2 separate regions of the Homo sapiens genome follow, and region 1 is linked to region 2. Evidence: promoter capture Hi-C in human tissues and cell types (Jung and others, 2019). All regions are on one chromosome and are shown on one strand. The core of a region is centred on a gene start or on the middle of the fragment in contact, and the rest is flanking DNA. Distances in the headings are between cores, read along the strand shown. Region 1 overlaps NFRKB (nuclear factor related to kappaB binding protein). Region 2 holds the start of TMEM45B (transmembrane protein 45B).

Region 1 (3,420 bases), core at 300-2,799, 64 kb before region 2:
TAAAAAGCAATATCAGACCTTATTTTGCTCTGTGAAGGAGTCCTTCAACACCCTTTTTGTACTCTCAAGGTGGGTTAACTAACTCCTCTGGTTGGACCAAAGCTGAGATGGAAGGAATAGCCTTTCTGTATGATGTAGTCTGGTGATGGCTAAATTTAAATCTGCAAGGGTATTTTGCAAGAGCATCGACATTTATATTAATCATACAGATGACTTTGGATTAATTTGTAATATAAATTTTTTCTTTCCTAAAAATGGGCTTTGCTATTGAGGAGAGTGTGCAGCAGCCCCGAATAAGTTGTTTCTAAAGAACAGGGTTGTTATTTTTAAGTTTATAAAGCCCACTTAGTGTGTAAGTTGTCATAACATGCATCTGAAGTCACTTGGAGGCTGTTACCTGGTGATGGTGAAAAGAGAGAAATCCAGTGTTGGTTTCTTCTTGAAATTCACAGGCACTTCTCTGTGCTGAGTGGTCTGTGGAGAAGCGTATGGAGAGCAGGTTATGAAAACGGTAGACTCATTCATTCGTTATTTATTACATTTATTCAGCTTCTGGGTGTCAGGCACTGTTAGGTGCTGGGGGACACAATGGCTTCTGAGACAGTGTGCTCCTCTCGTAGGGCCTAAGGTCTGTTTGGGGAAGAAATACTTACTTAGATTTAATGACAAAATGATCCTTTCTGTGAAGGAAAAGTACCAGAGAGGATGGGGGTTTATGATAATAGGAATTGATGTAGTTTGCAGAGTTTGGAGGACCTTCCTGAGGAAGCAGCATCTGAGCAGAGGTGTATGATGAATAGCACTGAGCCAGACAGGCAGAGGGGAGGCAGCAGCATTTGAGATGGAGGAGGTAGAACCTTTCCATGGGGAAGATTTGATCTAAAACAGCCACACAACCCACGGGCTGTGAGAGCTGACGGTAATTTAGACACAGGGAGAGAGGATGGATACGTTTGAGAAAGACTTAGGTGGGCTTGGTTATGGCTTGGCTGTGGGGAATGAAGGAGAATGGTGTGAGGCATGGCTCCTGTTAGATTTGCAGCTGGTGGAGGAAGGTGTTGTTTGTGCAGGTAGCAGCTGTGGAGGACTGGACTTGGAGGGTGGAGATCCCGAGTTTAGTTTTTAAAATTTATTTATTTATTCATTTATTTTTTGAGACAGAGTCTTGCTCTGTCCCCAGGCTGGAGTACAGTGGCACGATCTTGGCTCACTGCAACATCTGCCTCCCGGGCTCAAGCAATTCTCCTGCCTCCTCCTACTCCTGAGTAGCTGGGACCACAGGCGTACGCAACCATGCCTGGCTGTTTTTTGTATCTTTAGTAGAGACAAGGTTTCCCCATGTTGTCCAGGCTAGTCTTGAACTCCTGAGCCCAGGTGATCCACCTGCTTTGGCCTCCCAAAGTGCTGGATTACAGGTGTGAGCCACTGCACCCAGCCTGACTTTAGTTTTAGAGCTGCATTTGAGGTATTTCAGTGGAGTTGTTGAATAGACAGTAGGATGTGTGGGTTTAGAATTCAGACCAGAGAGTTTAAGGGGGAGAGTGTTGGCATGTGTGTGGTGCAGGGCACAGATGATGCTGTTACCTGAGGAGGAAGCACAGAGTGAGGAGAGAGGGCCGAGGAGGGCTCTTCACGGCAGAGGGGCTGAGTGACAGCATGAGAGTGCGGGGGCAGGGGTTGACTATAGAGATGGGGAAAGCCTGGAGCAGGGTTTTCCTGAGTCTTGGGAGCCAGGAGACCGGATCGCCTGAGAAGTGGGGAGTGGTCATTTGCCTCCATAGTTCCTAAAAGATTCAGTAAGATAAAGACTAAAGATTTGCAAACATGGAGGAAGTTGTGAATTTTTCAGTGAGCGTGATTCTCTAGTGGAACGGTGGAGGCGAAGCCACCGTGAGCTGAAGGTGATGATGGTAGCTGACTGCAAGCACTCCCCCCATCTGTCAGGCTGCAGTAGCCATGGAGGGAGCACATATACCTGGGCCTGGCAGAATGTTTCTTGTAGGGCCAGATAATAAGCGTTTGAAGCTTGTCGGCCAGATGCTTTAGTTGAAGCTACTCTGCCATTGTTGGGAGGTTTCTGCAAATAGTGATATTGTGTATTGACCATGAAAACAAAGGTAAACAGCCCCTTTGAGAAGGGTAGCTGCATTCATCACATAAGCAGACCTGGCCGATGATGGTCCTGTGGCTTCTATGCTGGGCAGGAGACACAGGTGCCATCAGGGTCTCAGACAGCCTGAACAGAGTGACCTGAGAAGAGGGCACAGGAGACAGGGCTTATCTCTTTCTAGGCGGGTTGTGGAAAGTCAAGCTTTTTCCTGCCCCTGGGTCTTAACTGCTATGCTAGTGAATAGAATTTTCTCTGTGCCCCACTAGCCAGAAGCCTTTCTTACCTACAAAAATAGAATAATTACCTTGGTATAAGCTATGATGACATCCTTTGTGATGCTTACCACTTTTTGAATTGATTTTAAAATATGTGCTCTTTCCTCACTTGACTATAAACTCCCATGAGGGTGGGGACTGAATTCACCGAGTAACCTTAGCGTCACATGCAGTGCGTGGCACAGTGGATACTCAGCGAATGCCTACGGAGTGAATGATTTCATTAGGTGGCATCCAAGAGTGGTGGTCCAGGCTGACTTCCGCCAGCTGGAAGGCAGTGGATGTGTGAAGGATTGTTGCTACAGCTCCTGATAGAATCTCTCTGTGTTGTAGTTACAGCTAGTAAAGAGAAAGCAGGATTCTCAATAATACCTTAGACCTTCTTATTTTTTTATCTCTTTATTCCTCTAATAGGCCAATCCCAAGATAATGAAAAGGAATTAGCTGCCCTCTTCCAGCTATGGCTAGAGACCAAAGATCAGGCCTTCTGTAAGGTATGTTTTTTTAAGAAATACCAGATCCTTCTCACTGGGTTTCCAGAGCTCTTAAGTTTGCCCAAATTCTTTAGTCCATTTACCTGTCAACGTTTTCTTTTTCTCCAGCAAGAAAATGAAGACAGCTCAGATGCCACAACACCTGTCCCTCGGGTGTGAGTACAATACTGTAGTGGTGGGTGGTGTCCTGGGAAACTGTAGTTCAGATACTGCCTTGGTTTTGTTAATACTTCTTGGTATGCTAGAGCTGTAATGGGCTTCAGAGCTCTGAGGAGTCCCCTGGTTCTTCCTGACTTGGCCGCACCCCCTGAGTGAACGGGACTCCTTGTGGAAGGGGCTGTGGTGGAGAGAGGGGACGGCAGGAGAGCCTCTAAGGGGCATATGACCTGCTTTGTAGGTGGACATACTTTTTTAATGTGTACTCCTCCCTGGGCTCCTACTTGAGAATTATTCATCTAGGCCATCTTAGTCCAGTAAATGGAAGCATGAAGTTGAGTGACTTGCTGAAGGTTAGCAGCAGGACCCCAGCTAGAACTTAGAT
Region 2 (3,499 bases), core at 565-3,064:
AATAAATGGGAACAGGTGTGGCCTGAGGATAAGTAAGTGGGGGCACTGTTTCCATCTTCATGAAGATGTGAGAGGAAATCAAAGCTCTTTAAAAAGAAGGAAATGGAATGCTTGGCTCCTGTAATATCAGAACAAATAATGCACAGCCAGAGGTCATGCCTCACCTTCTGCTTATCTCAGTCACCTCCACTTGTAAAATCAGTGGGCCATATTCAATAAAACCTTCATATCAGTTCCATATCTTTTCCCAGAAACCCCAGGAACAGAGGGAGCCAATATCCTTATTAAACCAAGAAGCTCACTGTCACAAAGAGCTAAGTCTGACGCCCCTGGGCCCCTACCTAACCACGTGTCCTGATTCTTTCCATAACTTCCCACTGCACAACATCCAGGTTATACTGAAGATATTACACATCTGGTTAAAAACAGTACACGTCTCTCATGAACAATAAGCCATCCTTTCTATTAAAATGAGTGTAAAATTGCAGGTAAAATGCTGTAGGCAGGCCTGTTTGGAAGGCTATGCGACCCTAGGAGACAAAAAGGTGCAGGAGGAGGAAAAGGGCAGACACCGCAGAAAGCGGTCGAAGAGAACGTGAAAGAAGTGGCCATTTCTAGCTGGGCGCGGTGGTTCACGCCTGTAATCCCAGCACTTTGGGAGGCTGAGGCGGGTGGATCATGAGGTCAGGAGATCGAGACCATCCTGGCTAACACGGTGAAACCCCGTCTCTACCAAAAAAAAAAAAAATACAAAAAATTAGCCGGGCGTGGTGGCGGGCGCCAGTAGTCCTAGCTACTCGGGAGGCTGAGGCAGGAGAATGGTGTGAACCCGGGAGGTGGAGCTTGCAGTGATCCGAGATTGCGCCACTGCACTCCAGCCTGGGCGACAGAGCGAGACTCCGTCTCAAAAAAAAAAAAAAAAAAAAAAAGAAGTGGCCATTTCTGCAACTTTTAGGAGAGCTACCTGCCCTCAAATTTTGAAAGGGTTTCTATTTCTTAAAGTGCTACGTTTCCCTGGCTGAAACTCACATCTTTCTTCCCTCTAGGGCTGGATCAAAGCTTCAGAGGTTGTTTCTCTGGCCCTAGACAGGGCCACCCCCGCAAATTTCTCCCCCACTGCGCCTGACATCCGCTTCCATCCATGGCTCCATTAACGGAAGCTAAGCACTGGCTCGGGGGACTTTATCCACCGCCCGGTGTTATTAGATTCCAGGCTTCCTGGCCTCAGGAAAGGATCTGGCTCGTGTATTTGTGTATCGCAGCTAACAAGGAAAGGCAGTCGGTACCAGTGCCCAGAGCTATGTGAGCTGTGACTGGTCACAGCCCAGGAGCCAGATGGCATCCCCGGGGGCGCGCGTCCCCGGACTCACCGGGCAGACGGAGGCCCGGGGCTTCACACCTTCCCCTCACCGGGCAACGCGGCAGACCTGACTCGCGGGGGACTGAGCAATATTCGTTCCAGGGCCGCGGCCAGCCGGACAGAGGCACTCGGGGGCGGTGGGAGTAGTGTGCGCACCGGTTCCGCAGCCCGGAGGGGGCCCCAGCTGGGCTTCCGCGACACCAGGGCCCTCCATCCCCTCCCGTCCTCCCCTAGCGCAGCCTTCACCCCTGTCCCAGAGCCCCTCCCTGTCCGCGTCCCCTCCCCCGCAGGTCCCCTGCGAGTCGGAACCTCCTCTCCATCACAGCCCCGCTCCTTGGCGGGGCCCCCTCTCCCTTCGAGCCCTCCTCCAGGTTCGAGCCCCCTGCGGGTACGGACGTCTGACCTGTGCCCAGCGCCTCGCAGCCGTCTGCAGCCCGCGCCGCGCGCCAAGTGCGTCCGCCCAGAAGCAGGTGCAGCTCCAGGCCCGCCCCGCCCCGCTGCGCCCCGCCCCGCTCCACTCCGCCAGGCCTGGCAGCCGCCAGCCCCTTTCCACCCTTGACCGCCCTTCCCGGTCCCGGCCAGCGTGCGGGGCATCTGTCGTCAGGTCCGCACTTCCTCCAGGCCTTTGACTTTCCCGTGGAGATGTCTCTGGCCTCAGGAACTCCCTAAGCTGTGTGCTTCAGGAGAGGCTGGTTCCTGAGTCACCCAAGAGGACTGCAACCAACCTGGACCTCCTGAGATGCAAAGAGATCGCAGGGCCTGGGAGGCGGCGAGGACCCTGAGAACAGGCTGTGGCTCCGAAGAGTGTTTGTTACCAAGCCAGGCAACCACTGCGAACACACCGCAGAAACAGCCACGGATCACCGTCCAGCAAAGGAAGAAGGTGCCAACGGTCCATCAGGGACCACAACCCAGTTTTTTTAGTTTAAGTTTGGTGGCTAAGTTTGAGTGTCACATAGTTCATTCATTCCTTCATTCATTCAACAAATCTGCCATGTTCCCATCTGATAACAGATCTGACAGGTGGGCACTGTTCTAGGTGCTGGCGATAGAGCTAAGAAGGAAACAAAGTTCCTGTCCCGGAGAAGGGGGCTACCTGCTGAGGAGAGCATGACTTTCTTTGTGGTATTGTGCTGTGGCAGCAGGGTCCTCTTCTGTAAGCTACTGAGAGGTGAAACCCGCTGGGCTTCTGGGTCGGATGGGGACTTGGAGAACTTTTCTGTCTAGCTAAAGGATTGTAAAAGCATCAATCTGCACTCTGTGTCTAGCTAAAGGTTTGTAAACACACCAATCAGCACTCTGTAAAAATGCACCAATCAGTGCTCTGTGTCCAGCTAATTGGTGGGGACTTGGAGAACTTTTCTCTCTAGCCAAAGGATTGTAAATGCACCAATCAATGCTCTATGTCTAGCTAAAGGTTTGTAAACACATCAATCAGCACTCTGTAAAAACGGACCAATCAGCACTCTGTAAAATGGACCAATCAGCACTCTGTAAAATGGACCAATCAGCGCTCTGTAAAATGGACCAATCAGGAGGATGTGGGCAGGACCAATCAGGAGGATGTGGGCGGGGCCAATGAGGGAATAAAAGCTGGCCATCCGAGCCAGCGGCAGCTGCGTTTGGGTCCCCTTCGATGGTGTTGGGGTTTTGTTGTTTCGCTCTTTGCAATAAATTTTGCTGTTGCTCACCTTTTAGGTCCACACTACCTTTATGAGCTTTAACACTCACAGTGAAGGTCTGCAGGTTCACTCCTGTAAACCAGCGAGACCAGGAAGCCACCACAAGAAACAACTCTGGAGCCGCCACCTTTAAGAGCCATAACACTCACTGTGAAGGTCTGTGGCTTCACTCCTGAAGTCAGCGACACCACGAACCCACAGGGAGGAGCAAACAACTCCAGACGCACCACTTTTAAGAGGTGTAACACTCCCTGCGAAGGTCTGTGGCTTCACTCCTGAGGTCGGCGAAACTACGAACCCGCTGGGAGGAAGGAACAACGCGGATGCGCCACCTTTAAGAGCTGTAACACTCCCTGCGAAGGTCCGCGGCCTCACTCATCAAGTCGTGCATAGACCACGAACTCTCTAGAAAGAAAAAACTTCGGACACACCTGAACATTTGAAGGAACAAACTCCG

What was found. Contacts are between HindIII fragments. The study calls those that stand out against the background at their distance.
Region 1: a fragment that was not itself captured here is called in contact with the fragment with the promoter of TMEM45B in region 2 in 2 of the 25 tissues and cell types used here (liver and thymus).

Annotation. Positions count from the first base shown.
Region 1 is chr11:129,877,923-129,881,342 of GRCh38, reverse strand. It overlaps NFRKB (nuclear factor related to kappaB binding protein), which reads left to right. Exons shown (of 27, transcript NM_001143835.2): 14 at 2,800-2,879; 15 at 2,988-3,034. Among named protein-coding and RNA genes, the nearest start is that of NFRKB, 16 kb to the left of the region's middle. The HindIII fragment of the contact is 5,602 bases long and covers 1-3,420 here.
Region 2 is chr11:129,814,163-129,817,661 of GRCh38, reverse strand. TMEM45B (transmembrane protein 45B) reads right to left here and starts at 1,814. Exons shown (of 6, transcript NM_138788.5): 1 at 1,764-1,814. It overlaps LOC124902793 (a long non-coding RNA gene), which reads left to right and starts at 2,975. Exons shown (of 2, transcript XR_007062952.1): 1 at 2,975-3,499. The HindIII fragment of the contact is 7,942 bases long and covers 297-3,499 here.